7 separate regions of the Homo sapiens genome follow, and all the other regions are linked to region 4. The links are contacts of gene promoters, found by promoter capture Hi-C in blood cells and fetal thymus (Javierre and others, 2016). All regions are on one chromosome and are shown on one strand. The core of a region is centred on a gene start or on the middle of the fragment in contact, and the rest is flanking DNA. Distances in the headings are between cores, read along the strand shown. Region 1 overlaps CSNK1A1 (casein kinase 1 alpha 1). Region 2 overlaps MFAP3 (microfibril associated protein 3). Region 3 overlaps SAP30L (SAP30 like). Region 4 holds the start of G3BP1 (G3BP stress granule assembly factor 1). Region 5 holds the start of GRPEL2 (GrpE like 2, mitochondrial). Region 6 overlaps PCYOX1L (prenylcysteine oxidase 1 like). Region 7 has its middle 5.8 kb from the start of ADRB2.

The links. Contacts are between HindIII fragments. The CHiCAGO score rates a contact against its expected background, and 5 or more counts as called.
Region 1: a fragment that was not itself captured here is called in contact with the fragment with the promoter of G3BP1 in region 4 in 1 of 17 cell types (monocytes); the score reaches 6.1 in monocytes.
Region 2: a contact is called between a fragment that was not itself captured here and the fragment with the promoter of G3BP1 in region 4, in 5 of 17 cell types (erythroblasts, total CD8 T cells, naive CD8 T cells and 2 more). The highest score is 10.7, in erythroblasts.
Region 3: a fragment that was not itself captured here is called in contact with the fragment with the promoter of G3BP1 in region 4 in 1 of 17 cell types (total CD8 T cells); the score reaches 5.1 in total CD8 T cells.
Region 5: a contact is called between a fragment that was not itself captured here and the fragment with the promoter of G3BP1 in region 4, in 1 of 17 cell types (fetal thymus). The highest score is 5.7, in fetal thymus.
Region 6: a contact is called between a fragment that was not itself captured here and the fragment with the promoter of G3BP1 in region 4, in 1 of 17 cell types (fetal thymus). The highest score is 8.0, in fetal thymus.
Region 7: a fragment that was not itself captured here is called in contact with the fragment with the promoter of G3BP1 in region 4 in 1 of 17 cell types (monocytes); the score reaches 5.3 in monocytes.

Annotation. Positions count from the first base shown.
Region 1 is chr5:149,519,975-149,524,120 of GRCh38, reverse strand. It overlaps CSNK1A1 (casein kinase 1 alpha 1), which reads left to right. Exons shown (of 10, transcript NM_001892.6): 4 at 3,733-3,831. Among named protein-coding and RNA genes, the nearest start is that of CSNK1A1, 29 kb to the left of the region's middle. RefSeq lists an enhancer at 480-649. The HindIII fragment of the contact is 1,772 bases long and covers 1,400-3,171 here.
Region 2 is chr5:154,040,912-154,044,919 of GRCh38, reverse strand. The region is part of intron 1 of MFAP3 (microfibril associated protein 3); the gene reads right to left. Among named protein-coding and RNA genes, the nearest start is that of MFAP3, 3.9 kb to the right of the region's middle. The HindIII fragment of the contact is 1,540 bases long and covers 1,760-3,299 here.
Region 3 is chr5:154,447,961-154,452,215 of GRCh38, reverse strand. It overlaps SAP30L (SAP30 like), which reads right to left. Exons shown (of 4, transcript NM_024632.6): 2 at 1,003-1,125. Among named protein-coding and RNA genes, the nearest start is that of SAP30L, 4.1 kb to the right of the region's middle. The HindIII fragment of the contact is 1,880 bases long and covers 837-2,716 here.
Region 4 is chr5:151,769,469-151,773,215 of GRCh38, reverse strand. It overlaps G3BP1 (G3BP stress granule assembly factor 1), which reads right to left and starts at 1,262. Exons shown (of 12, transcript NM_005754.3): 1 at 1,180-1,262. It overlaps LOC100652758 (a long non-coding RNA gene), which reads left to right and starts at 1,040. Exons shown (of 2, transcript NR_132345.1): 1 at 1,040-1,513; 2 at 2,444-3,423. RefSeq lists silencers at 636-705, 756-1,085 and enhancers at 1,294-1,588, 1,846-2,075, 2,454-3,175. The HindIII fragment of the contact is 14,997 bases long and covers 1-3,747 here.
Region 5 is chr5:149,343,424-149,347,487 of GRCh38, reverse strand. It overlaps GRPEL2 (GrpE like 2, mitochondrial), which reads right to left and starts at 1,989. Exons shown (of 4, transcript NM_152407.4): 1 at 1,872-1,989. The coding sequence starts at 1,948. It overlaps AFAP1L1 (actin filament associated protein 1 like 1), which reads right to left. Exons shown (of 19, transcript NM_152406.4): 19 at 3,851-4,064. RefSeq lists enhancers at 32-532, 1,057-1,680, 1,681-2,306. The HindIII fragment of the contact is 948 bases long and covers 810-1,757 here.
Region 6 is chr5:149,365,193-149,369,212 of GRCh38, reverse strand. It overlaps PCYOX1L (prenylcysteine oxidase 1 like), which reads right to left. Exons shown (of 6, transcript NM_024028.4): 4 at 3,060-3,271; 5 at 1,713-1,853; 6 at 1-1,220. The coding sequence ends at 559. Among named protein-coding and RNA genes, the nearest start is that of PCYOX1L, 9.2 kb to the right of the region's middle. RefSeq lists enhancers at 631-1,494, 1,651-1,730, 1,821-1,870, 1,495-2,359 and a silencer at 2,613-2,907. The HindIII fragment of the contact is 3,087 bases long and covers 990-4,020 here.
Region 7 is chr5:148,830,306-148,834,467 of GRCh38, reverse strand. No RefSeq gene overlaps it. Among named protein-coding and RNA genes, the nearest start is that of ADRB2, 5.8 kb to the right of the region's middle. The HindIII fragment of the contact is 579 bases long and covers 2,386-2,964 here.

The DNA of each region.
Region 1 (4,146 bases), core at 1,036-3,535, 2.3 Mb after region 4:
TCACTTACCTTTATTTACTTTATCACTTACCTTTTAATACTATTATTTATGTATTACCCAAAGCATCACTGTGAGCTTCTTTCAAGTAAATGTCATAAAGTAAAATGAGATAAACAGACATGGTATTTGAGGTGGAATTTTAGTAAGTTTGTAAATTCAGAGGGATGAAGAGAAGTAGGTTAATGGGCACAAAAATACAGTTAGGAGGAATAAGTTCTAGTATTACATAGTATAGTAGGGAAATTATAGTTAACAATAGCTTATCGTTTATTTCAAAATAGCTAGAAGAGTAGAATTGTAATGTTCCTAACACAAAATATAAATGTTTGAAGTAATGGATATCCCAACTACCCTGATTTGATAATTACACATTGTATACATGTAACAAAATATCACACATACCCCATAAATATATACAACTATTATAGATCAATGAAAAAACTTTGTCTATAATTCCAAGGATTAGAAAGTAGTGCCCATTTTCTGTAATCAGCACCTGATACTCCCCAAGCTTCTTAACCTTAAAAGTACTCAGTGGCTCAAGCAAATGTGAGCAAATTGTGATATTTGTGGCACAAAACAAACTCAAGCATTAAAAGGTTAAAAGTGGCGCGGCACACTGGCTCACGCCTGTAATCCAGCACTTTGGGAGACCAAGACACGAGGATCTCTTGAGCCCAGGAGTTCCAGGCTACAGTGAGCTATAATAATGCCACTGCACTCCAGCCTGAGCAATAGAGCAAAGACCCCATCTCTTTTATGTTAACAGCCTTTAATGTGGGCTGGGTTTGGTGGCTCATGCCTACAGTCCCAGCACTTTTGAGAGGCCAAGGCCGGTAAATCACCTGAGGTCAGGAGTTCGAGACCAGCCTGGCCAACATAGTGAAACCCATCTCTACTAAAAGTACAAAAATTAGCCAGGCGTGGTGGCTGACACCTGTAATCCCAGCTACCCGGGAGGCTGAGGCATGAGAATCACATGAACCCAGGAGGTGGAGATTGCAGTGAGCCGAGATCGCACCACTGCACTCCAGCCTGGGGGATAGAACGAGACTCTGTCTCAAAAAAAAAAAAAGCCTTTAATATGTTTTAACTAACATATATGAGTGAATCCTAATAAAAGAGTTATGGCTTATGTTTTTGTTTGTTCAGTAACACGTAAGCATCCATACATTGAACATGTATTGAGAGCCTACCACTGTACTTAGTGCTGGGGGTTGGGGTGGCAAAAAAATAAGAATTAGTCTCTTCCCTCTAGAAAGAAACTTAGAGTCTAATAAAGAAAGATGGAAAAATAAGATGTTCCATCCTTGTTGTAGAGTTGTAGAAGTCTCTGTTGGGTACACGGGTAACAAATGTGAAAAAATATAATTCTGAGGAAGGGAGATACAAGAAAGCTTTCATTTAAGGTAGTTGACACCTAAGTCTTGCTCTGTGGTTGACAGGTAACAGGTGTAAGTTGTTCAAGCCAGAGATTACTAGTTTGGCTTCAGAAGACATTTGTCAAGGTAGAAGAGTACAATTTAGAATCTGTGTATTCATGATAATAAAAGCTCTGGGGAAAATGGGGACAAATAAAAAATAGAATCCTAACAGATACTACTGGGTAGAGCAAGAACATATGGACAGAAAGATAATGTTGGCAGTCTTTGGATATGTAATCTATTTAAAAATACAACTTCTAAGTAAGTGTCTTATAGAAAAGATAGAGGCTGGGTGTGATGGCTCATGCCAGCAATCCCAGCACTTTGGGAGGCAGAAGCAGGAGGATCACTTGAGCTCAGGAGTTCGAGAGCAGCCTGGGCAACATAACGATACCCCCCTTTCCACAAAAAATACAAAAATTAGCTGGGCATGGTAACGCGCATGTCCGTAGTTCCAGCTTCTCAGGGGGCTGAGCTGAGAGGATCACTTGAGCCCCGGAAGTTGAAGCTGCTGTGAGCCGTGATCTCGTCACTGCACCCCAGCCAGGGTGACAAAGTGAGACTCTGTCTCAAAAAAAACAAAAAAACACAGAACTTCTATTGTATACAAGAAATGCCATAAGCAGTCAAAATAAAAAATAATTTAAATTTGTTTACATAATGACAGATAAAAGATTGTTTGTTTTATGACGAGAACTCCTAAAAGCTAACAAGAAGACAATAGGCCGAAAGAAAAATAGGCAAAGAGTGGAGCTTGACAGTACATAGAAGAGTAAATCCTCATAGAAGGGCCAGGCGCAGTGGCTCACGCCTGTAATCCCAGCTCTTTGGGAGGCCGAGGCAGGTGGATCATTTTAGGCCAGGAGCTGGAAACCAACATGGTGAAACCCTGTCTCTACTAAAAATAAAAAAAAGTACCCAGGCATGTGGCGGGTGCCTGTAATCCCAACTACTCGGGAGGCTGAGGCAAGAGAATCGCTTGAACCCAGGAGGCAGAGGTTGCAGTGAGCCAAAATTGCACCACTGCACTCCAGCCTGGGCAGCAGAGTGAGTGAGACTCTGTCTCAAAAAAAAAAAAAAATCCTCATGGAAGGATTACTTCTAAATCGAGGCCGGGCATGGTGGTTCACACCTGTAATCCTACCACATTGGGAGGTCGAGGCAGGAGGATCTCCTGAACCCAGGAGTTCAAGAGCAGCTGGGCAACATAACGATATCCCGTCTCTACCAAAAATTAAAAATTAGCTGACACAAAAAAATTAGCCAGGTGTAGTGGCATGCACCTTATAGTTTCAGCTACTCCAGAGGGTGAAGTGTGAGGATCACTGGAGCCTGGAAGGTTGAGGCAGCAGTGAGTTATGGTTGCTTCACTGCACTTCAGCCTAGGTGACAGTGAGACCCTGTCTCAAAAAAAAAAAAAAAAAAAGAAGAGTAAATCCAAATTGTTACAGCCTATTGTGGAAGGCAGTGTGATATTATCTATCAAAATGAAAAATACACCCTTCAACTCAGCAACTCCCCATAATTATATGGGATTTGAAGCCCATAGAAATAAAAGCACTAGTGGGTAAAGATACATGTCTATTAATGGCATTATTTATAGTAGGAAAAAGTGGAAAACAATGTGAGAATACTGTGAGTTGGGGAAGACATAACATCTCTACCACAGAATATTTGTAGCCATTAAAAAGGATATTTGAGCTATAGCGTTTGACTTTGCATAATTTCCAAGAAATTAAGGAAAGCTTTTAAGAATGGCATGTTTAATATTTAACTTTTGGAATGAGATTATATAAGAATTATAACAACTACTTATAGCTTAATCTGCCAATCTGTCAACATCCTCCACTCCCAAGTATATGTGTATCTGTTTGTGTGCATATGTATATCTTATAACATGGAATTAGGTCTGGGTAATACAAGGCCATTTTAACAGGTTACTTTAGAAGGCCTAGGATTGAGTGTGGAAAGTTTTTATTTTATTTCCTTTATTGTAGCAACTGAAACTATTATACAGGTATTCCTTTTATTATTTGAAAATCACAAACACCAAGTCTTCCTATGGGGTTAGACCCTGCCATGGTTTTAATTATTAATACTAGAAGGTAAAGCCAAAGGACACAGCAGGTATATGCTTAGATATCCATTAACCTAGAAATAAATGGAGAACTTAGTTGTCCTTTCCATTTCATTTTCTTTAGCGCTGTCTTTGTGAACTCTAAATAATTGAGATACTGAAATACTTAAGAAATGTGTTGATTTTCATTTACTACTTAACTCAATTATCTCTCCCTTCTTTTTTTTCCAGATGATCAGTAGAATTGAATATGTGCATACAAAGAATTTTATACACAGAGACATTAAACCAGATAACTTCCTAATGGGTATTGGGCGTCACTGTAATAAGGTTAGTCAAATGCTCTTTGCATGAAAGAACAAAGAGTAAAGTTTCGACAAGAATTGCTTTGGTAAACTTTTCAATCTTTTAAAAAGCCATAGTAAGTTGAATTTGCTGTTGACAGTTGCTTTAAAAGATTGTGCTATGAGGATAATCAGCTAACTCCATTAACTTAGTAACTTGAAATAAATTATCTTCAACTTACCCAACCGAGGTTAGTTACCTATATGGAAATATAAAATTCTAAGGGCTGTATAATGAACTGTAGTTGTCTAAGTTATTTAACTGTTGAACAGTTGTATCTATTTTTCATTCACAAAAATA
Region 2 (4,008 bases), core at 1,280-3,779, 2.3 Mb before region 4:
ATTAAATTTTACTCAAAATTAAAACCACAAAAGTGAAGATGAATGTGCAAACACGTAATAAATGCGGAAATGGTTAGGCAGGAGAAAAAAGATTAAGTTCACAAAAAGTTATTGAACTGTGTCTGTGGCTGCCAGGCAATCTTCATCATAGATCTCTAGTCTCTTCCTTACACAGTGGAGTGTGGCAAGCAAACTGCCCATGTGGCCAAGATTTGTGGTTCTTGTGTTGTACAGACATAGCCATTTGCCTCTACCTACCAGACAGGATTTAGGAAAACACTATAAACTCCCTTAAACTGCTCTTAGGCCAAACATGGCAGAAGAAACCTGGCACACTGATTTTGAGCCACAAGAGAAAGAGGCTGCACAATAGCCTTACACATCCAGTTAATACTGGGCACTTCACTCATACCATGTACATCCTGAACACAGAGGACTTCTGATTTGAAAGACTAACGGATATAACCCATTTGCAGGTAACAGGCTGTTCAGCAGCTGTGAGAGAAAACACTGGCAAAGATACGTGTCCAAGAAGGTGACAAAGCAGAAAAAAATAGTGAGGGAAGAACAAATCATCCTTGGTATCAGGGTACTATTATTTCCTCACACTAAGTCTCCTTTTTGCTAAGTCAGCTTGAATGGGTTTCTGCTACTTGCAGCACAAACTGCATTGACTATGACCATTCTGCTCATTCTAGACTAATGACTTTAAAACTACAGCTCAGCTAGGTCAAGGATCCATCGTGGAAGATGAAGTACAGTAGGTGGTGCAAGAGTTGCTAAGGAGAATTAGGACACTGTCCTAGACCCTCAGGAATTTACAAACCAGCTTGAAAGACAGCCCAGAAACAGCCAACTGTATCTAAGACAATGTGACTGAAATGTAATTATATTGTGAATGCAACAGAGAAAAGACAAATGTGTCAGTTCTAGGAATGCAATTCACTTATATGTTTGGGACTTCCTATAATATTAGGCCTGCATGCTTTGAACATATGATCCTTTATACTATAGTTATTTTACTTTCATTTCCAATCCTTTAATTTTTCCTCACATATACAGCCTCAGATGCAGAATTGTTCACCAAATCAGTTAAGTGGGCTGAGGTCATTAAGGCAGGTATATTAGATGCCATGGGAGACACAAGAGTACGTGCATTTGTATTTGGAAAAAAAAATATATATATATATATTATGCCTGCTGTTTTTAATGTAGCAGCTGACATTTGAAACCCAAGAACAGATTTCAAAAAGGAAAACCAAAGTGTCACCTTCTTCTTATCAGTTAAAAAGGGCTATACTATGTTTGTGGATGAAGTTACTTGATAAAATTTTTTATTACCTTTCCTTTTTGTGTGTGTGTGTGTGTGTGACGGAGTTTCGCTCTTGTTGCCCAGGCTGGAGCGCAATGGTGAGATCTCGGCTCACTGCAACCTCCACCCCCCAGGTTCAAGCGATTCTCCCACCTCAGCCTCGCAAGTAACTGGGATTACAGGCATGCACCACCACGCCTGGCTAATTTTTTGTATTTTTAGTAGAGACGGGGTTTCTCCATGTTGGACAGGCTGATCTTGAACTCCCAACCTCAGGTGATCTGGCTGCCTCGGCCTCCCAAAGTGCTGGGATTACAGGCGTGAGCCACCGCGCCCAGCCTATATTACCTTTCTTCAGCATTAATAAATAAAAATGTAATAGATAAGTGTAAGACTCAAGTTTAATCCAACTCCTTTTTCATCTTTCAGGTATACAGAATGTAAGCTTTGCTAGGATCATAAAGAATCAGAAATGTGGATGATTTTACCCCAGAAAACCATGTTGAATATTGACTATATTATTTTTAAAAAAGAGAAGAGCCTATAGCTGTCACCCCTAACAGATTGTCTTGTTGCCGTTCCTGCCAACTTCTGAGGGAAGAAATATTTCCATTCTGTTCCAATTTTCAACACAAATAAGGAAGTAATATGGCTGATTTCCGTTCTGGTGACTCAATATTAAGTTGGCTGAGGAAACTGATGTTTGCAGAAATAGTTCTGGGAAAATGCAAAGCAGGGAAACACATTGATGCCCAGGTGGTATTTTTTTTTTTTAAACTCCAATTATATTGGGATATTAGTGCTTCATTCTCTATAATCAAATGTGTTCTAGGCTGCATTTACAGCTCATCCACCCTTCTCTGCCTGCACTGTCACACTTGGAAAACGGACCAGTTCCTACAGCAGGCACACAAATTGACAAAGCAGCATTCTGAATCGGCAAAGGGGAGAAAAAGCAAATGAAGAGCAGGTTGTTAGCACTACCCTACCCTTTGCAAAGAATAAACACAAAGTTGTTCTGCCTAGACTCAAGCATTATTATAGGGATCTGTAACTAAAAAAGGTTAGTGACATTCAAACAGAAATCACTATCCTGAGGGCCATTTACTCAAAAGTTTCTAATTAAAATAGCCTTTATATTACTACCTTGGAGCTATCACATACCCCATAACTAGCATTTGGTCAGTCTGAGCTCAAACTTCAACATATCTTCTGGCACCTGGAGAAACATCGTCTGTATTTATCAGAGCTTTGCTTTAAACCCAGGATTATTTCAGTTATACCCATAACTTATATCCTTTTTGCCATAGGTATATTTGCTGAATAGCTACTGGATGCAAATGACAAAAACATCAATGAAACAGGCTTAGATTTATGATCTTCCCAGGCCATTTTTCCCCCTCTATAGTCTGAAACATCTCTATTTGAAACTCAGTCTAGTTAAAACAGAACTCCTCTTACCCTCAGATCTACTTGTTCAGCTTATGAACAGCTTAGATAATAGCCAGACAATTCTTCCAGTTTTGCAGTATCAAAATTGTAAGACAATCATGGCTCAGTGGTTAGGAGAATGGGCTCTAGAGTTAAGGTGCCTGATCCTACCCCTGGGTGAAGCCATAGGCTTGCAAGGCCTTAGTTTTCACATTTATTAAATAAAATAATATTAACAGTAACTGCATCATAGGGTAGTTTTGAGGATAAGATGAACTAATGTGGGTAAATTATAAATATATGCTATTGTTATTATTCCACCTCCTACACATTTTTCAATTAAGTCCTGTTGTCTCTGTCCTAACTCATATCCTTTTATCTCACCTGGGTATACCACACTATCCCCTTAATTTCAGAATGGATCTCCTTAACTCCTTTTACCTCTATGATGTATCCAAACACTGTGACACTCAGAATTGGTCCTAAACACAAATCTGAGCAATTCAGGGTAATTTTACAATCTACTGGTGATTTCTCACTGCCCATGAGATAAGCTTAAAATTCCAATTTGGCATTGTAATTCTCCAAGAATAGATTCAGGCAGCAGAACAGAAAGTCATGAGAAGCCCAGAGGTGCCTCTATGTACGATAATTGCTTGCAGGAGGAATGAATGGATTTAAACATTAAGTCTGGTCTTTAGTTTTACCTCTATCACAAATTAGCTATGATGTGCTCCAGTGGTTTTAGTTTCCTCACCTAGAGGCTGATTATCATTATCATTCGTTTCTTTGCTTAAATCCTATAATCTACCCAGCTTTCCTGCCATGGCTGAAAGCCTAAACTACGCTTGTTTTACTTTATTCTCTCTAAATAACTTTTCACCTTACTAGTTGTTCCTTTTGCTTAAAAATCTTTCTGCCCCTTCCCGTCAATATCTTTCTGGGGGAAACTGTACCCTCTCTATAATATTCAACTCTAATTTCATCTTATTCAGGAAACCCTCTCATGCCCACCCTCTTGTCAGATGAGTTTTTTTTTTTTTTGCTCTGTCAGTCCCCTAGCACATTAAGAGTACGCCATTATAAGACTTATCAGTTTTCCTCTTAGCAGTTAGTTATCCGTTCAAAAGACTGTAAGCTTATGAATGATAGAGTCTAAAAACCTTCTGTCCTTAGCACAGGGCCACTGCCTGTGGCAAGTGCTCAAAATTTTGAGTTCAGACACTCATCGACTTGGTAGTGTGAAAGGTGTCTGCTACAAACTT
Region 3 (4,255 bases), core at 527-3,026, 2.7 Mb before region 4:
ACATCTGCAGACAAAGGCCCGCCTACTCTTTCTATTCCTACACAGTCATTTTCACTCTGAGTGCTAACAGGCGGTTGCCTTATGAAATATTCATGTGTCAAATATTCAATGTACACTATAAACGGTTCTTCTCTTGCTGAGTCTTGAGTGAAAACAATTTAGTAGAAAGAAAATCCAATATTCCTTCCTGAAGCCTCACTTAATAGACACGGGCACCTGAAGGGAAGGCAGCCTTCCAGTTTGAGAAGCCTAGGTCTCATGGTCTAGCGCAGTGGTTCTCAACACAGGACGATTTTGTCTTGTAAAGGAGGTGTGGCAATGTCTGGAGACACGTTTTGATTGTCATGACTCAGGGTGGTGATGGGTAGAATCTCACGAGGGGATGCTGCTGAGGCATGCTGTTAAATATCCTACAATGCAGAGGACAGTCCCCACAACAAAAATTAGCTGACCCCAAATGTCAACAGTGCTAGAGTTGAGAAAACCGGGTCCAGTTTAGTCAACTTTGAAATGGATCCTTGGGAACAGCCTGGACTAGATGTCAAGAAATCAGTGAGAGAAAATCAGAGCTGGTATGAACTGATGACTTACACCTTCATTTTTTGGGGAAAAGACTTCTCCCAAACCATTATACACTCTCTAAAGGCATAAACAAGGTTTAAAAAAAAGTGACACTGTGGTTGTATTTACGCATTCGTCAGGGGCGTCTTGCAGAAAAGCAGTGTGGTCTACTGGAAAGGGCCCTAGACTAGAGCCTCCAAACTATATACATGACCTCGGCTCTCTGTGCCTGTCTGTAAAATGATGGGGCAGTCTGACCAGTGGGTGTCCAAGCTTTTAGCTCTCAGATTCCATATTACTATAATTCACTTTTCAAATAATCCACAGCAAAACAAAAGGACTAAAATTACTTCTTAACACAAAAAGCAGACCAGGCCAGAGGTGAGAATCAGATTAGAATCCATTCTTCCAGCTTCCGCAACTGGTTTCTTTGACCTTTACCTCAGGAATGTCAGTGTCGTGCTCGGGAGAATCTCCGCCATCGTCACTTGTCTTCCTCTTCCTTTTATTTCGGACACTCTGGATGAAATTTTTGTGAAAATCACAGATATATAGGTGCCTTACCTGATGGAGACAAAAATCAAAGTCAGAGTTGGCCAATTCCTTGGAGACAGCAATAGGTATCTGTCGAATTGCGGGGCTTCCTTCCATTGCAGGGCATTGGAGAGATAGATGGAAGACAAGATGTAGGCCATCATTCCCAGAAGCTCACTACTGAGTTGCAGAACACAAAGAGAATGCTAACATCACACTTGGCAGCGTATCATACACCAAACTTCCAGTGAATGGTGAAGACAGTAAATGGTACAGATTCAGCAAAGGAAGAGATCCCTGCAACAGAGATGCTCAGGGTGAAGGGCCCTGACTAAAAGGGAGGACTTTAGGCAGACAGGAAGCATTCCAGATGGGTAGGAGTGCCAAGACTTTAGAGTTTCCAATGGAGGATGACAGAAAGAGTGAGGAGGCCCAGGGTACAGTGTCAGTTGGGTGATGATGGCTGCCCATGTAGGAGCATAATGAAAAAGTGAGGCATCAGGGGGGTGGGCATGAGAACAGCTTAGACTTTCCTTCCGACAAGACAGAGTCCCTCAAGGAAGCAGGAAGTGATGTGACATTTTTAGAAGACCTGTAGGAGTCATAAACTTATAGTCGACTGGAATGTACTGTCCTGGGGAGGAGGAAAGCAGGACACAAGGGACTGTTGCAACGGTATTTGGGACACTCTATTTTTACAATTACAATAGCTACTATTGTAGGATAATAACTCTTTGAAAAACTTTGTTTCTATGTGTCAATTTATAATTCTTGCATTATCTCACATCTGATCCACAAAGAAAAGTGGAAAAAGATGTGGAAGTTCTTACAAGGTAGAACCACATACAAGAAGGTGGATACTACAGATTTTCTAATACAGGCTGGAGGCACACTGGTAAGTGAAGGTGGCAGCAACAGCTAAGACATGAAGAATCCTCCAAGGCTGGCTGGAGGAACCACTGAAAAACTTTACAGAAACTGAATGCCCAGCAAATGACTTGGGGTTGTTGATACTGAAACAGCTGTTGCACAAATGTTCTGCAGAGACTTCTGAATTTGAGTTTATTCCTTAAATCCTTAAAGATAAAAGTAAGCTGGCAGGAAATCCGCATCAATTAATTCAGACCTTTTCATGGAGAAAATAATGAAAACTGTTTATTTATTTATTCAGATGAATGATCACTTTCATGTGGCTGGATTAGTGAGTCATAAGTACTTTTAAGTTTATACTGTGATGGTGTCTTGCAGACAGGAGGTACTCGAAAAATGTTGATGTACCAATATAGGAAGTCTCCTATATCTAAAAGTGGCTTAAGGCTAATGAAAGCCACCACTTAACATGGTTACAAACTGGGATAGCTTTGTCAGATTCAACTCTGTCAAAGGACTTTCAAACACAGCACATGCCACTGTCCCAAAGAATCCCACCTAGCTGATGTATATACTACTGGACATGCTTTTCTCCAGGAAGAAAGCACAACAAAGCACACTCTGCATCCCTGAGAGGAAGCTAGCCCTCCATGTTAGCTAGACTGGCGAGTCCACTCAGATCAACTGCTCCTCAAGTTCACAGTAACAAACTTCATAGGAGAACAGGGAGAATAGGTGGCTTCCTAAAGCTTTGGCTGGGAGATTTCAGATCAGGACAATAGAATAACGGAATCCTAGCTGTAAGAGAACTTAGCAATCACTAGTGCAATCCCATTGACCCCAATCCGTTTTCTAAATGGGTAAAATGAAGCCATCCAGAGTGAGGAAATGACCTGGCCAAGGTCACCCAGGCCTTCTGCCCCCCCAGTACATGTCTTTTCCTACTCCAGCATTTTCCTTTATACTATTCTCAACTTCCACTTTTCTCCAGGAAAAAAAAAGCAGAAATATGTCAACTGGAGGTATATTAGTATTTTAACAGATCACAGAACACTGCCAAAGTCTATATAAAATGAGTTAAACAGCCTGAATTGAATTTCTGGTGTTGTTATTTAAAAAGGTTCTCTGCTAGACTCTCTTACAAGATAAATAATCATTTTCTCCTTAACCATTTTCAAGTACATACTGGTTTTCAGAAATTTCAGAGCTCAGTGGCCTTTGGGAGTGGGGTTGGGGCAGGAGGGTGGTAGCAAAGGCTCTAGTTTTTTTTTTTCCTTCACTTTCTGCAATAGCTAAAAATTCTTGTAACATACCAGTTACCTGGAATTGAATTCCTGCCCAAGCCTGTGAGAAAGAAATAGAATCCCTTTCAGAAATAATGACTCCACAACACCACCTTAAAACAAATTTTGAGTGATTCCACCTGGAAACCTTACTACCTCAGAAGTATTACATTTTGGGAACACTAATGCTAGGCTCAGGCTGCCCTTCTTCTAGACAGTGTGTGTGAAATGATCAGCATAGCTCAACACAGGTTTTCCAGTACAGTCAATGGGTAAATAAAAGGAGTCCCAGTTGCAGCAGCAAAATCATTCAGATGGGAAGGCATCCAGTGATCTAAAAGGACTGGAAGATTCTTTTAAGGACTGGAAATTATTATTATAAGCTGCTCAAGTAAAGCAGCTTCTAACAACCTACACGGAAGGTAGGCAGTGTTTCTAAGTGGATGAATTCATTGCCATAAGCATTTCACCTCAACGTGTGACCTAAGGAGGGATCACCTTGGTGTCTAGACCCTTGTTTGTTCTCAGATATTTCCATTCATGCATTCATTGATAGAGATTTGTAGTAAGAAAGCCATTAACTCTCTCCCAACCACTTAAAAATAGCACCTGTCCATGCAAGAGCTGCAACTGTATTATAATGATTAACTTAAAAATGGGGGTAGGAGGGAAGAGTCTGAAGAAAGGACAGGGGCTGGGCGCAGTGGCTCACGCCTGTAATCCCAGAACTTTGGGAGGCCTAGGCGGGTGGATCATTTGAGGTCAGGAGTTCAAGACCAGCCTGTCCAACATGGCGAAACCCTATCTCCATTAAAAATACAAAAATCAGCCAGGCATGGCGGCAAACGCCTGTAATCCCAGCTATTCAGGAGGCTGAGGCAGGAGAATCGCTTCAACCCGGGAGGCGGAGGTTGCAGTGAGTCGAGATCTTGCCACTGCACTCCAGCCTGGGTGACAGAGTGAGACTCCGTCTCAAAAAAAAAAAAAAAAAAAAAAAAGAAAAAGAA
Region 4 (3,747 bases), core at 13-2,512:
CTTCTCAAGGTCTTTCTGCAAAAGTCTCCTCCAATTAAAAAAAAAGTAGAGAAAAAAAAATTCAACGTCTAAAACCGGAGCCTAACTTCCCGCTGGCGGGAATTTCCCATCAGCAATCTGAGATTCAAACCCGATGAGGAACACAGTCCATGTTCATTTGCACTTACTCATCGTTTTCCCTACTTTTTTCCAGAAGCTACGGTGGCGGCACATCTACCCAGGGCCTGTACAAGTACACGTAGAAAGGAAGCCCAAACCCTTTTCCTTTGTCACATTCCCACTTCCAACCCTTGTCTCCCTGGAAGCCCAGAACTAGCCCAAGTACAAATGCCGCTGCAGCCTTCTCGGCAGGTGGCCTTTTGAGGCTGATGCTGCCCCGAGGGACAAGTGCTCTGGGGGCAAAGACTAAAAACAGGCTTGGGAAGCGGGGAGCTCGGAGTCAGAGGGCCCGGCGTCAACAAATCCCCGCCCTTCCCGTGCGTGCCTGTGACCCCGCTCTCCAAACCCGTGCCTTGGGCCGCTAAGGAAGGAGGATAGCCGTACCCACCTCGCCAGCTCACTGCAAGAATCAAATGAAAGGCAGAAAAGTGGCTCCGCACAGTGCCGGACACACAGTGAGGGCGTGGAAAGAACATTGGTTGTTACTACCACTCCGTGCACTCGCTGCTCCCTCTTTGCTCTCTGCAAAACCGAAGGCGCTTCTGCGACGCGCGGACCGCAAGACTCCAATCAGACTTTAGTGCTGCCCCCACCCTAAACGAAAGCCTCCTTCTGGTCCGAACCGACTGGATCCCTTGGCCAGGGGAGGAAAAGGTGCCGCGGGCGCGTGGCGGAGAGGGTGGCGGGCGGGAAACGCTGGGCGCGGGACCCCTGGCCCCAGAGACCGCCCTGGGGCCCAGGCGGCGGCCGCGGCTTACTCCTGCCCCGCGAGGCCGTTGGACGCAGCACGCGCACGCGGCGGACACGGCCACGCGCCCCAGCCGGGACGGGAGCGGGAGCGAGGAGCCGCCGCGCGCCCGTCCGTCCGCCGCGCGCGCCTGCGGCCGTTGGGGTGGGGGTTGGGGTGGGGGACGCGACTGGCGCGGCCGCCGCGAGCGCCACTCAGACTTCTCCCTCTCACAAGTGCTGCGGCTCGGCTTAGTCCTCTGGCCTCCCTGCCCCGCCCACACCCCGGCGTACCTACGCGGCTGAGCTGGAGAGGAACTAGCTCTGCACCACAGCACCGAGGATAGTACAAACCCCTCACGCAACTGCGTCCGCACACACGCGTGCTCCGCCGCCGGTCTATATAACTGCCACTCACCCTAACTTGTTGCGGCCAGGTCGGGCGACGGGATGACCAATCCCGACCGCGTCCTCAGGGCTCTTCGAACAGTAATTGGGCACTGACTCGGGGATGAAGGCGTGGCTCTTGATTGGCTTTGACTCCTGCCTATGAGACTGTGAGGATCTCGTTTCCCTAGTAACAGATCGGCACTAAGAGAGACCAATAACCGAAAAGTACAATAGAAAGGCGAGTGAGCAGTTCTTTGACTGATACTCAAAGTAGCCAATAAATGTGTGGGGCTGCTCTTATTCGTTAACACGTCTTCCCCTGGGCGGAGATCCGTTTTCCATGCAGGAGCGGTTGCGCCACAAGGTGGGGCCCGTGTACTTTGGGGAAGTAAACCCCTAGCAACTAGGAGGCGGGCGTCCGAGAGGCCAAGACAGCCTGTGGCCAATCGCAACGCCGGAAGGAGCTGATAGACACGGAGGTTGCTCTGCTCGGAAGAGACCGAGCCCCAGGGCCGCCGTGCCCTCTGGGCGGTTGTGAGGCTGTGCAGCCTGCGGCTTCTGCCCTCTTTCTTTCCCTGACTGGTTGGGTCCGGCCTCCGAGGCCTGTACCCCGCCTTTTCCGCATAGGTTTGTACCTGGCGAACCAACTAGTAAAGTTTCCCGGGTTGTTTTCTTTTTATTACAACTTTTTTCTTACGTGCGGCGGCCAAGGGCCTTGCTGCTCTCACCATTACTCAGCACTGCTGCGGGGCAGAGGAAGGAGGGTCGTTCCTGCGCCGCCCGCAGGCTCCCGCCGGAAGGTCGCCGGTGGAAGGCCTGAGAGTGCGCCCTTCCGCCAGGCGCTTCTTGGCGGGCGCTGCGAGGCGGCCGCGGGCGTGTGGCGAGGCTCCCTTTGTGGCAGCTGAGGCACGGTGGTCCGCGCGTGCTCCAGTGGAGTGTGGGCCCTCGCACCACGTCCCGAGCTGCACCACTATTGTTCAGCCTCGAATTGCCGCGGGTGGGGGCTTATTCTCGTCGCTACGCCTTTAAAAGGCAACTCGTCCCCTCCTCCTGGCGTTTCAGGCACTGGCGGGGCTACAACTCAAGGCTGGCCGGCCCTATTTCTATGGAAATAGCTTTGGTTCCCAGCCGTCCGGCACAGACACGCCCCGGTTTGTTCTCGTTCCAGGCATGTGACCAGGGTCTCCCGCGGAGTTTTGCTGAGAATTTTGGAAATGAAGCATGTGGAGCGCCTATGTCGGGGGAGAGAGGCCGAGCTGAAGGAGCACGGGCGCCGGCCTCGGCCTCTGGGGAGCCGGGCCCGCTCGCCTCCCTGCGCGGGGCTAGCCCGAGCCTGGAACTCGGGAGGCCCAGGAGCGAAGTGAAAGCCCCTTCTGGTCCCCCAGGGCTCCACTCCCGCAGCAGCCCGGCTCCGTCGGCGTCAGTGGAGCCCCAGGCCTGGGTCCGAGATGAGCGAGACGCTGCTCTGGCTCGCGGTCGCCCGAGCGCTCCCAAAACCAGGGAACAGGCCCCAGGAGAGAAGCCCCTAGAAGTTTCCTGGAGCAGGGAGTCTCCTGTATCCTGTTAGCTCTGCAAAGGAATCTGGACTTTATTCTGAGGGCCTTGGAGAACCCCTGCAAAGTTTTTTAAAAGGTGGACTAAGAGATTGGCATTTCACAACATGACTCTCCGAATTGAAACACTAAGAAGATTGGCGAAATTTAACATTTACAGATTAGTAATTTAACCCAGGTGACTCGCGATGAGGGACATGGCTACCCTTCACTTTTGGAGGGAGTTTTAAGTGATACAGATCTTTTTGCCAAGCAATTTTTTTTTTTTTTTTGAGACGGAGCGTCGTTCTGTCGCCCTGGCTGGAGTGGAATGCCGTGATCTCGGCTCACTGCAACCTCCGCCTTCCTGAGTTCAAGCGATTCTCCTGCCTCAGCCTCCCTAGTAGCTGGGATTACAGGCGCGCGCCACCAGGATCTGCTAATTTTTTTGTATTTTTAGTAGAGACGGGGTTTCACCATGTTGGCCAGGCTGGTCTCGAACTCCTGACCTCAGGTGATCCACCTGCCTCGACCTCGCAAAGTGCTGAGATTAACAGGCGTGAGCCACCGCGCCCAGCAGCAATTTAAAAATCTAATAAAATTGTGCATATCCCCCAAAACAATAATGTCACTTGGTTGATAGCCACATTTGTTTACAAAGGCATGTGCCAAGACTTTCACTGCAGCTTTGTCAGCATTGCTAGAAGATTTAAAACCCGAACACTTAATGTTCATCAATTGATAAGCTGTTTTAACAGTGATATACACGTAATATAGAATATTATGCAGCATGCCGGGCGCGGTAGCTCACGCATGTAATCCCAGCATTTTGGGAGGACGAGGTGGGTGGATCACCTGAGGTCAGGAGTTTGCGCGACCAGCCTGAGCAACATGCGAAACCCCGTCTCTACAAAACAAATTCAAAAACTAGCCGGATGTG
Region 5 (4,064 bases), core at 34-2,533, 2.4 Mb after region 4:
AGTCCTGACCTGGCCCAGTTCAAGGAAGTTTCCACTGCAACTCCTGGATCTTCGTAATTTGACTGTAAGTAAAATTATCTTGAAAATCAATCTGTGAGTACATGAGTTCTTTAAAACAATTTTTATGGACTGGCATATACTGTAGAGTGGTCCTCACGGAGACAGCTGAGCAAAGGCTTAAAGAGGGTAAAGGAGTCAGCTTTAGAAAAGGGAAGAGCATCCTGGGCAGAGCAAATAGCTAGTTTAAAGGTGTAAGCAAGAGGACTTTTATCTCTCCTACTTTCCAAGCTGATCTTAAATTCAATTATTATAATCCGGTGTGTGATTTTATAGACAGTTCCACATTTTGGGGTCAGAAAATATGGTCACCGTAGATCTGGGGCTAATTACACACGGTGAAACATCTTCTCCCTAAAAAAACCACATTTATCCACTTGAAAAAGCAGGTCAAAATATTCTCAGGGGCCGGGCGCGGTGGCTCACGCCTGTAATCCCAGCACTTTGGGAGGCCGAGGCGTGCGGATCACGAGGTCAGGAGATCGAGACCACGGTGAAACCCCGTCTCTACTAAAAATACAAAAAATTAGCTGGGCGTAGTGGCGGGCGCCTGTAGTCCCAGCTACTCGGGAGGCTGAGGCAGGAGAATGGCGTGAACCCGGGAGGCGGAGCTTGCAGTGAGCCGAGATTGTGCCACTGCACTCCAGCCTGGGCGACAGAGTGAGACTCCGTCTCAAAAAAAAAAAAAAAAAAAAAAAAAAAAAAAAAAAAAAAATTCTCAGGGCCAGTTCAAAGGGAAAATGGCCAAAGCTTAGACCAAGAAATAGGGTTGGGGAGTTGTGGCCAATCTCAATTCCTACTGCTTCAGAACTGGAGTAGGGAGACAGCTTACCAGAAGGAACCATTTTTCTTCTGGTCATTTCCTTACATCACCAACAAGCTGCCAAAAAGACTTGAGAACGGTAAGCAAAACCAAGTCCCGAAACCCTGAATGCAACCTCTCACTTAGGTGCTAGGGTAGGATGTTGGGTCAGGTGTGTTAAGGTAAAAAGGGTGACATATGTAGTTAAGCACATTTACCAGATTCTCCCGTAGCTTACTTTACTATTCAGAGGTCCAACCCTACCTCGTACTCAACTATTTTTATTCTCTATCCCAGGAAGAAACAGTGTAGGGGCAACAGTCTCTGAGAAAATTAATTAACATCGCTCATTAAATAAGAGCGCCGATTCCAACGCCCTGACTGGTTTCCAGCCCGGGTTCCACCACTTCCCAAATATTTAAGTTTGGAAGTTACTCAACTTTTCTAAACCTCACTTTCCTTAACTACTAAATGGGTAATAATAAAAAGAACCACCCATAATTCTGCAGTCGGCCTCGTAAGCGACCAATAAAAGCTGCCGATGGAACTTGTCTTCCGAAGGCTGATGCAATGGCCGTTTGGAGAAACAAGTTCAGCGGCCTCCTTTTACTGACAGGTACAACAGTGCCCGGATAACGGAGAAAGGACTGGCCTTAGGTCACACGGAGTGAGGGGAGAGAACCCAAATTTACCCACAGGTACCACAGGCTGGGAGAAGAGGCCGGGAGAGTGGTACATCCCTCCCTTGGGGGCTTAAGAGACTTCTCACCTTCCAGGCCATGCATGACCTCGGATCTCCTTACCTTCCTCGGCCTAAGAAAGAGGCACGGCTGATGGCCTCAGTTTCCCCGTCTGTAAAATGGGGCCGTGAGTGCACGGTCGTAGAGGCCGAGAAGCTTGGTCCCCTGGCCTACGCTCAGATAGCTCTCGCCTTCCAGCCCACAACCACCCCGGCTGGCTCGCTAGCCCCTCAGAGTCCTCACGCTCCCGACTCCCCGCCTGCAATGCTTACTTGCTCTCCCACGCGGCACTCCAGGCCAGTAGGCGCTGCACCCGCAGCCGGCCCGCCCACAGCGACCGTACGGCCATGTTTCCAATTTGGGCTGAGAGGCAGCGCACGCGCACTTGCTGCGAGTGAAGAGATGCTCCCGCTTAAAAACCAGCCTTTGCGGGCGTTTCCCTCTCAGGACTTCCGGACAGGAACGCTATGCTTCCGGTTGCCCGATGGGCCGCGCCGTTCCCCATCCGGTCGTCCGGAGCTAAGGCAACACTTCCGGCTCTCAGTGTGTTCCGCGGGTAGGCGAGGTCCTAGTAGTAACTACAGTCTCCGTGCTGGGCGCAGGGTCGGCAGCAAAGAAAGCAGATCATAGCTGTGCCCGCATGGAGCTTACTTGATATTATGAGCGATAAACAGATACAAGCGGGATGTAAAGTCAGAATATGAGCGGTGTTTGAAGGTGAGGGGCAGGTGTCGCGGAAGCCTAGAATAGAAATCTAGCCTTGTGGAAAGTTTTCCCAGAGGAAGGGGGTATTTGAGCTGAGCTGAAGAAAGGGTTCAGGCAGAGGGAAACATCTGCAGAAGCCTAATAAAGAGAGAAGAGTATTGCATGTAAGGGACTGAAATATACTGAGGCGGGAGGGCAACAGGACTGGTGGTTAGGAAGGGCTAGATCACGTGAGCGGTTTAAAACATCGCAGCCTGAACCATTGCCCATCACTCCTCCCAGTCTTTTTCTCTAATGCCCTTCTTATCGACTGAATTGTTTTTTTAAATAGTGTGTATTTTCTCATTTCCTCTCACTAAAATATAAGCTCTTTTAAGGCAGAGATATTGTCTATTCATTCCCATTGAGCAGTGCCCTAATGTAGGTGTTCAAAATTATTTTTTTTGAGATGGAGTCTCACTCTGTCACCCAGGCTGGAGTGCAGTGGCACGATCTCGGCTCACTGCAACCTCTGCCTCCCAGGTTCAAGTGATTCTCCTGCCTCAGCCTCCTCAGTAGCTGGGATTACAGGCGCCCACTACACCCGGCTAATTTTTGTATTTTTAGTAGAGACAGGGTTTCACCATGTTGGTTAGGCTGGGCTTGAACTCCTGACCTCAGGTGATCTGCCTTCCTCAGCCTTCCAAAGTGCTGGGATTACAGGCATGAGCCACCGCCCCCGGCTTCAAAAAACTTTTTTGCTGAATGCAATTTAGTCTGATTCTGATTGCAATGGAATGTGAAAATAAATAAAACCTAAAAGCTGTTGGAACCTCCCAAATACTTGAAGCTTTGAGAGAGATGTGGCTGTGGTCTGAGTCCATGTAGCATGTTTTGTAGTTCTGCTTCTTAGAATTATAGCTTAATTCTCTTCCTCATTGTTCTTGTTCTGTAATGACTAGGAAAGAGCAGAGACCAGATTTCTTCCCTCTCAATTACTGATGTTTGTAATAGACAGCCTCCTTTATTGTCCTGCACCTAACTCAGACTAGATGGTGCCCTGAACTGAACTGACCCCATGACAGTTACATCTGCAGGATGTGATGTTAAATGTACCTTTCTTGAAGGAAAAAGACCACCTTAACTACTCAGATCATTGTAACTGTGCATTAAGCCTTGCATAGAAAGATGTTGAAATTCTGTTAAACCTCACTGAACCCAACCTTTCACACTTTGGAACACTGACTTCCATCTTTTTTAAGACAGACATATTTTTCCATTCTGTGCTTCCTGGGCAGGCCATCCTCAACCTTTGTGCTTGAATAAACTCTCTTTAAACTAGATTCTGACCTTTTAAATTATTTTAGATTGACAGGGAACATGTGACAAAGGCTTTCATGTTTAAAGAGTCACTTTGACTGCTGTGTGAAGCAGATTGCAAGGTGTAAGAAAAGAGGTAGGGAAGGCAATATGTTGCAGTAGCCCAGGCAAGATGGGGCTATATTCTGTCCTGGAAGAACAGAGAGAGACCTTCCTAACCACTGTAAAGTAACTGTGTCCAGCACCCTTTTAGTTTCTTAGTATTTTATTTCTTTTGCTTCCTTGTTAAGGTTTTTTCCTCCAACTAGAATGTGAGCTTCATGAGGTGTCTGTCTTGTTCACCACTGATTTCTGACATCTAGTATAGTAGGTACTCAAGTATTTGTTGAATGACTTAATTAAGTTGGATAGTGTCAGTGAAGATAGGAAGATATGGATGAATTTTAGAGATTTAGGATGGA
Region 6 (4,020 bases), core at 1,284-3,783, 2.4 Mb after region 4:
GGCTTGGAGATGGTGACTAGGGAGTTCTGAACTAGGTACTTCAAATCCATCAAGTCCACAGTAACCAGGAGCTATGATCATTTCTTAGGTTTTCTGATCTTCCCTTCTACTTTATTTGTAACCATCTGGTTGTAAATGTTTTCTTGTAGGTTGCCTCAATTGATTGTCCATTGTGGGAGTAGGTAGTGAAAAACAGTAATAAAATAAGACTCATAGTTCTCTGCCTTATATTCCCTCCCGTAGTCTTCTGGTTTCTAGCTAAGAAACCAAGTCTGAAGCACCTTGTGAAGATGAACTTTTTTCTTCTTAAAAAAAATAAATAAAACAAATATACTGGCTTGGATTTCCTTCTCTTTTCTTACTTTCCCCCTTAAAAAAAAGCAGCAGCCGCCGTGTGGACCCTTAATATAGGCAGACAGTAGGTCACCTGGAGATGCTTGATACATGAGGGGTCAGAAAGAAGCCTGGTGGGCGAGCATGGCTTATTCAGTCCTGGGCTGCTGTGGGATGATCCATCTTCAGTGGGGGATGAAAGTTCCCAGGCTCTCCCTAGAGCCCTCACAGTTCAGTCTTGACCTTGTGCATCAAATCTTTTTGATCAATCTTGTCTAGGTCCTGGTACCAGCGGTTGTAAGCCAGCAAGGCCACATTCTTGGCAGCCACGGCCATCACCTCCACGGAGCTGGCCGCCCACTCCAGGGCATTGAGGTAGAAGAGCTGGTCATGGAGTGCAAACCTCGGGAGCGTGGGGCGGGAGCCATAGAGGGGATGGGCCTGCCACTCAGCTGTCTGCACTGAGTAATAGGAACGGAACAGGGTCTTTAGCTGGGTCCGAAAGAGGGGCTTGGGGGACTGGACTCGCCAAACAGCTGCCTCCTGGGGCTGCTTTCGCCGGAAGCTGGCAGAGATGTTGACAGGGCAGATGTTGTCCAGAGTGCAGAAGAAGCTGGGGAAATCTGTGGTAAGGATGTTGGCAAAGGGGAAAAGCTTAGGGTCTGGGAAACCGAAGTAGGACGAGTTGAGGTAGCCGTGGACCAAGGAGACGACGGTGGGCTGGAAAGAGCCCTGCACGTCATCAATGGGCGGGTGGAAGCCTGCAAAGGTTAAGTTGCTGCTGCTGTTGTCCAGGTGCAGGGGGGTGGCGATGACCACGATGTCATAGAAGTCAGAGCTGTTGCCTACCTCATTCTCATACGCCACCTGGTACAGGGCTTTCCCCTCTGGAAAGAAAAGAGCACAAAAGTCAACTTTCCCTTGGCTTCTACCCACTGAACTCCCTACTGGGGTCCAGCATTGAGGTACAACGAGACCCTGGTGCTCAGGGTGCAGCAGGGCTGTCTAAATGGTGGGTCCTGGCCTCTCCATGCTGATGCGGCTGCAGAAGAAGCAAGGGGCATGGAGTCAGGAGACTCAGTTTCTGCTCTGCTTCCGCCGCTGGCCAGTTGGGGGAGCGTGGGCAAGGATGTCATTCAAAGTCCTCATCGGTCAACAGAAAAAGGCTGGGTCGATGGAAGTCTCAGCTTTCTGGCTGACATCTGAATTGGGGAAACAGCACCCTCTAGTGTCACCTGGCAGGGTTGGGGCTTCTCAATGCTTTTTCGGAAATACTCCCCAGGGGGATCACAGACCAGGGCTGAGGTACAAAGGAGGCAGAAGTGTCTGTCCACTGGCTGGGAATGGCATGCCTGCCCACTCCCGCCCTGTCTACTCACCTGTGCTGTGCAGGGTCACAGAGGTCACTGTGGCATGGATCACATTGGCCTTGGTGAGCTTCAGCAAACCGGAACAAACCAGCTTATTGCCTCCTTCCACAGACCACAGGCTGCCTTGGGCCCCGGCTAGTGACATGGCTCCTGGGCAAAGCGGGAAGTGGGTGCTGATAGGTTGTCAGGGCCGTGGGGCAGGAGGGCTGGGGAGTCCAGTACTATTCGACTGGGCCTCCCTGCCAGAGCAAAACTCTCCCAACCATGGGCATGGGGAGATGGCAAACATACAAGTAAGTACAACAAAGTGCACAATGCTATGGGGGGAAGACACTGTGCTCAACGAAAGAGCCAGCTCCCAGAGACCACATATTGTGAGGTCTATTTATGCAGAATGCCCAGACTAGGCAAATCCACAGAAACAGAAAGCAGATCTGTAGCTGCCCAGGGCTGGGAGGCCGGGGGGTGTTGGGGAGGTGAGGGCTAAAGGGCAAGGGGGTTTCTTTCTGGGGTGATAAAAATGTCCTAAAATTGATTGTGGTGATGGTTTTAGAACTCCGAATGTGCTAAAAACCACTGAATTGTGCAATTTAAATGGGCGAATTATATGGTATGTGAATTCTATATATCTCTACACAAAAATGCTATGAAGGAGACACACAAGATACTGAAAGAGTGAGCAAGGAACACTGAGGGGACACTGAGGCAGGGCCTGAAGGCTGCGAAGGAGCCAGCATGTGCAGAGCCAGATGAACAGTATCGAGGGTACGAGGGAGGTGCTTGTTATTGTAAACCTTTGCATTCATTTATTTAACAAAAATATACCCAGTGCCTAGTATGACTTAGGCACTGTTCTGTGTTTGCAATGTATCAGGGAACAATAGACAAGGATTCCTGCTCTTGTGAAGCCTACATTCTCCACTCCTGTGGTCTGTGCTAGCAGACAGTGAGCTACACACAGGCCCAGCCACTCCCGTGAAGAGCTGGGAAGAGGAGGTGCTCTCACAGTGGCTCAAAGGCCTCAACAGGGCAGTTCTTGAAACCAAAGTGTAGAGAGCAGAGCATTATCTCAGCTCTAACATTTACACACATGCAAGGGATTATGAAGCAATTGGGAGTGGTAGAAACACACTGGACCTGTGATCTGAGCCTTGCTTTCACTGTCTGTGAAGTGGGGTGATACTATCTCCTGCCAACTCATGGCCAGTCCCAGAATCAGGCAGGATGGGGCAGCAGAGTGCCTATGTGACTGCAATGAGCTGGATAAAAGTGAGGTTATTATGGGGACCCCCAGCCCATTCTGAGCACCTTGGGTGGAGGAGGGGCAGGTGGGCAGGCCAAGGGTTGGACGCTTACCTGCAAAGGCGGGCATCGCTGCTGACTGGCCATAGCTGGCCCGCAGGACAGCAGAAACGACATCATCAATAAAGCGCTGCGTGACGCCCACCTGCAGCAGGGACTCAGCCACAGAGTGCTGGGTCATGTTAACAAAGGTGGACTCCCCCAGTGAGTAGAGCAGCTCCTCCACACCCGAGAAGGCATAGCCGTGGGCCTGGTACTTATAGATCCTAGAAGACACATAGAGCTGGAGTCCTTGTGCAGGAAGGCTTTTTGCCTGACCACCTGCCCCTGGGTTATAGTGCCTGGGAGGCCCACCAGGAACCCATCACTTCCTCTACATGGAGTGGTGGCAGAAGAGGCTGGTCATGTTCCCTGGCACCTGTTCTCTGACTGTGGCGGGCCTGTCCCACCTAAAGGGAGTGTGAAGGTATGGAATCCTTCTAGGCCTGGCTTCACATCACGGCTGTGCTGAGTAACAACTGTATCACTGCTCTGAGCCACTCCCTGCCTGAGGTCATAGTTCATAACCCTTTCTTCACCCAGCTGGGGCTACGGCCCACCCCTGCTGACACATCTCCTTCTCCAACAGTGTCGGTTCTGCCACAGCTTCTAGGACCTGATGACACACTGCAACTTCATGCTGATACTGTCACCTTCTCTGCCAGTCCAGCCTGTCCTCTCCTCTCGCTTCATCTGACAGGGCTCCCACTCACCCCCAGGCTCATGTCCTGTCGCTCTATCACTCATGCAATCTCACTAGCATGGATTGGAACCATCGATGGATTTCCTGACTGGCTGGCCTTTGAAATGTTGCCCATTCTAGGGCTTCTTTTGTAAACATGTTGAGTTTGGTTATCAATAGGACACGAGATGGAGGTGTCCAGAAAGTTGAAATGTGGGTCTGGAAGTGAAGAGGAAACTAGGGCTGAGAGGGAGAAGTCATTTCCCATAAAACGTAGAAGTCAACATTATTGGT
Region 7 (4,162 bases), core at 1,426-3,925, 2.9 Mb after region 4:
CAGCTTAGTTTACCTCTGAAAGTCTTAGTTTTCCAATTTATAAAATGAAGGCAAACATAATAGCATATTATTGTGTGAATACTAAATGAGAGCATGCACCAGAATTGCCAACTATAATGCTTGGCTCATAAGAAGCACTTCGTAGCTATTAGCAGTTACTATTATCAAAAGAGGCTCTCTATGAGAATAAAAACCTACTGTTGCACTTTTCCAAACAGAAGTTATTGGTCACTGTGTGACCTGAATAGACTTATTTTCACACAAATCAACAGGCTGGGTAGGAGGCATTCAACAATGTCAAAAGAACTCTGTCCTGGGTGTTCAGTGGTTAGTTTCCTCTGCTCCGAAAGCAGATTAGAGCCCAGGTGCAGAAAGTGTGCTTTCAGCAAGGCAAGTATAGAAACATCTTTTTCATCCACTAGCAAGGGGCAGGGGGAGGGATTCTCTCTGATTTACACAAAGTTTATATCTTTGTAGCCTTATTTCTCAAAATGTGGCCCATGGACGATCTGTGTTGGAAAAACCTGGAGAAACTTGCTAAAATGCAGATTCTTAGACCCCAACTCAGACCTTGTGATTCAGACTCTCCGGGAGTGGTGATTCTTTCGTACCTGAACACTATAAAATCAGGCCAATGGGCAAACAGGAATTATAACATCTGTATCACAGTATACATAAAAGTAAGTTCAAGGGAACATTTGTAAAAGTATCAGCAGTGGATCCAAAACAGTATAAATAATATAATTCTATTTTCATTTACAAATATATTTATGTACATTTGTATAGCTAGGCTTAGAACAAAGACTGGAAGCATATACATCATCAAATTTATTGATGGTTATCTTTAGGTGGTGACATTAAGTGGGATTTATCTCATTTTATACTTTCATATACTTTTAAATGTCCTATAATAATTATCCATTATCCTTTTAAAAAGAAAAAAATATGCTTTTAAAAATAAAAGCAATGCAGTCAGATGTGTGGTGCTGAAGACTTCCTAATATCTTACAGAATTTTAGAGAAAGAAGGAAACAGAGGACCCATATAAACCAAAGCATCTCTCTTTAGAGGTGATGAAATGGGTCTAGAGAAGGGAAGTGGCCTGCCTGAGGTTACCCAGACTCTTAGTGGCTGGGCTATGACAGACCCCAGGTCTCCAGGCTTTGGGGCTAGAAGCTTTGAAGTGTTCCAGTGCTAGCCAGGGACCTGCCTCTATTCCTTCCTGCCCTGTAGGGGTGACAAAAAGACCAGAGGAAGTGCAATGATTCCGAGGGTGGAGAAGGATGTAATAGTCTTTGCAGAGAGGACTTTGCAGCTCTCATTATTCTCGCTCTGGGAGTTAGTAGGTCATTTGCAAAAGGCATGGGAAGAGCAGCTGATGAAAAGGTCTAATAGTTTGGAAAACTGCTTAACCTTATTGCTCTATTTCTGGATTTCTCCCCATGGCCAAAGGTTGTTGAGATACTGATTTCCCCCGGAGGTTTCCCATTTAGGAATGCAGTGAAACCTCTGAAATCCAGAGGAATTGGGGAGAAGGCCAGCTGGAATTAGGGAACAGTTTGAATACACTTTAAGAACATTCAGGTCTGCTGTTTTCAAGGACATAGGATCACAGATTTGGAAAGAGCCTAGCCCAGCCTCCTGCTCAGTGCAGGCCTTGTGCTTCATCCTGAACAGAGCTTCAGCTTCATCTGGGCTTCTCTTGAATGCTTCCAAAAACGGGAGGTTCACAATTCTGATAGATCATTTATTTCGCTCTTTGGAAAGTCTTCCTATACCCGAGCTAGAATCTGCCTTTCTGTAAAGTTCTGCTTGCCTTCTTGTATTCATGCAGAACCGAGAAATCTGTTTTTTTCCCCCCTAGATCATACTGAAAAGCAATTATCATGCACCAAATAGTACTTCACAGCATTCTCTTCTGCAGGCTGACAACCTTCAGAATATTCAACCATTGTTTATATGGCAAATGTCATCAACTCTAATTAGAAATATAAATGATTATCTCTAGCCTGTAAATTAACAACTGTATAAATTCAGAGGGGAGCAGAGCTTAGATACCACCTGTACTGGCCTCAAATTACAGATGAGTAAACGGAAGTCGGCTGAAGAAAACCGCCTCACCCAACTTCAGAGAGAGAGAGAGTGGGGTGGTGGGTGGGAGGTTGGAGGGGGGCTCTTTTCACCTCACCCTGCCTCCTATTATTCACAAAACACCAGAATTTCTCAAGTTCTTGAAAGTGCTTAGGAAGTTTGTTCTCTTACGCATTTAGAAAAATCCCTCCTTCAAATTATATTTGCACTGTCAGTGAAGTATGGATTAGCACAGACTGAATTTAGTAGAGGTTATACTGTCAATGGAAAGTATCATTCAAAGCATATTAAGCTTCCTTGCTCTCTGCTGTCAGAAAATCATCTCCTTTGATCTAGAATGCTAGCTCAAGATGGAAAACATACCTATATGGCTACCCAGGCCTATCAAATTTCCATAAGGTCTGGCTACCCACTCAATTTAGGAGGCCTTCCCAACTTTGGAGCTGAGAAAGAGTGCCAGGACGTAGGGCAGCCTGTGTTTCTGCTTTACTCTGCTGTGTTCGTTTTAGAGTTTCATATCCTCTTTCCATTTTGGTCTGATTCTCTGATGAGAAGACAAAACAAAGACTTGGAGAAGCAAACTAGGCACTTCAGTGATTGGTTTTTTGTGTCAGTCCCCAGAAACCCTGCAGTCACATGCTTGGAAGGGAACATTCCTCCCTGCCTCAACCCACAGCAGTCTCCGTCTTCTCTCAACAAAGTATTGCATTTCCAGTTCTTACACTTGTTCTGGCACAGATTCTAAGCTACCTCGTGCTGCTTCCTGGTTTGCCTGGGTGCTAGGCTCCATGGATCCTGGAATCACAGAGACCTGGGTTCTCGTCCTGACTCTGCAACTAGTTGGTTGTATGGCTTTGGAAAGTTACTGAAGCTTTCTGAGCCTCAGCTCCCTCATTTGTTAGATGAGGACAATTATGCTACCTACATCATACAGTTGTGAGGACATAACGCCTAACAGGTGTCTAACATAGTCACTAACTTTTAGTAAGATTCCATAAAAGGTATCTGCTTAGTATCCTTAATATCATGATCCAAAAGGCAGAAATGGAAACCTATACTTTTCTCATGCTGCATACAGTAGGTGCTCCATAAATACTTTCTGACTGATTCTGGTTTAGGCTCCATTTGGCAATAGGTTCACCATAAGAAACATTCTAAGAATCATGTAAAGACAGTTCCTATTCTCAAGCTCCCCTTTCTCCAGATTCCTTATCCCATTAATTATTGCAGTGGGGAGGCTCACCCTGTCCTGCCACTGTTCACACCTCTCAGCTTGCATCTTAGAAAAAAGTTCTTCTTATTTGACAGACTCTGAGAACTTGCTGTCCAGGCAAAAAAAAAACTCACGATGAGGAATACAACACAAACCTTAGGTGGCCAGCATGTCAGCAAACAGAGAGACGAAGGGACACTGACAAAAGCCAACCCCTCAAAAGAAACAAAGCAACACACCAAAGAGGTAGAAAGCAAAGGATTAAGATATGCCTAGAATGCTCTTGCTTATCAGGACCCTTAAAACTAATCAAGGTTCTTGTGTCTACAGTATTCCTAAAGGAACGTGAATATGGTTAAACTCTCCTTTTAGCTGGGAATCTGAATTAACATTAATACCTGAATTTTAACAGAAATTACATTAGACATTCCTTTAGGCAAAAGAGTATATATACAACACCGACATCTGGTTATAAAGAGCTAAGGAATCTCCCAGCTTCCCTAAATGCAGAAGATATCCTAGTGGATGCTTGTTGAGTTAAATGAACAATTATTTCTTTTGTCTCTATTGCAGATTATTTGTTTATGCTCTAAATTTTGTGTTAAGGACAAAAGAAAAATATATTGGCTGAAATGAATGTGTTATGTTATAGCCCCAGTTGAGGGTGAGGAAAGAACGCAATGCTAATGTGGTGGAGAGAATGCAGCAGTTCCTGGAATAGCAGTTGGGTTCCCTGGCTTGAGTCCCACTCTGACATCCTTGGCTGCTTACCTTGGGCAAGCCCTTCACCTCACAGCGTTTCAGTCTCATCAGATGTTAAATACTTTCTATGGGCTCTTCCATGTCTGAGATCTTATG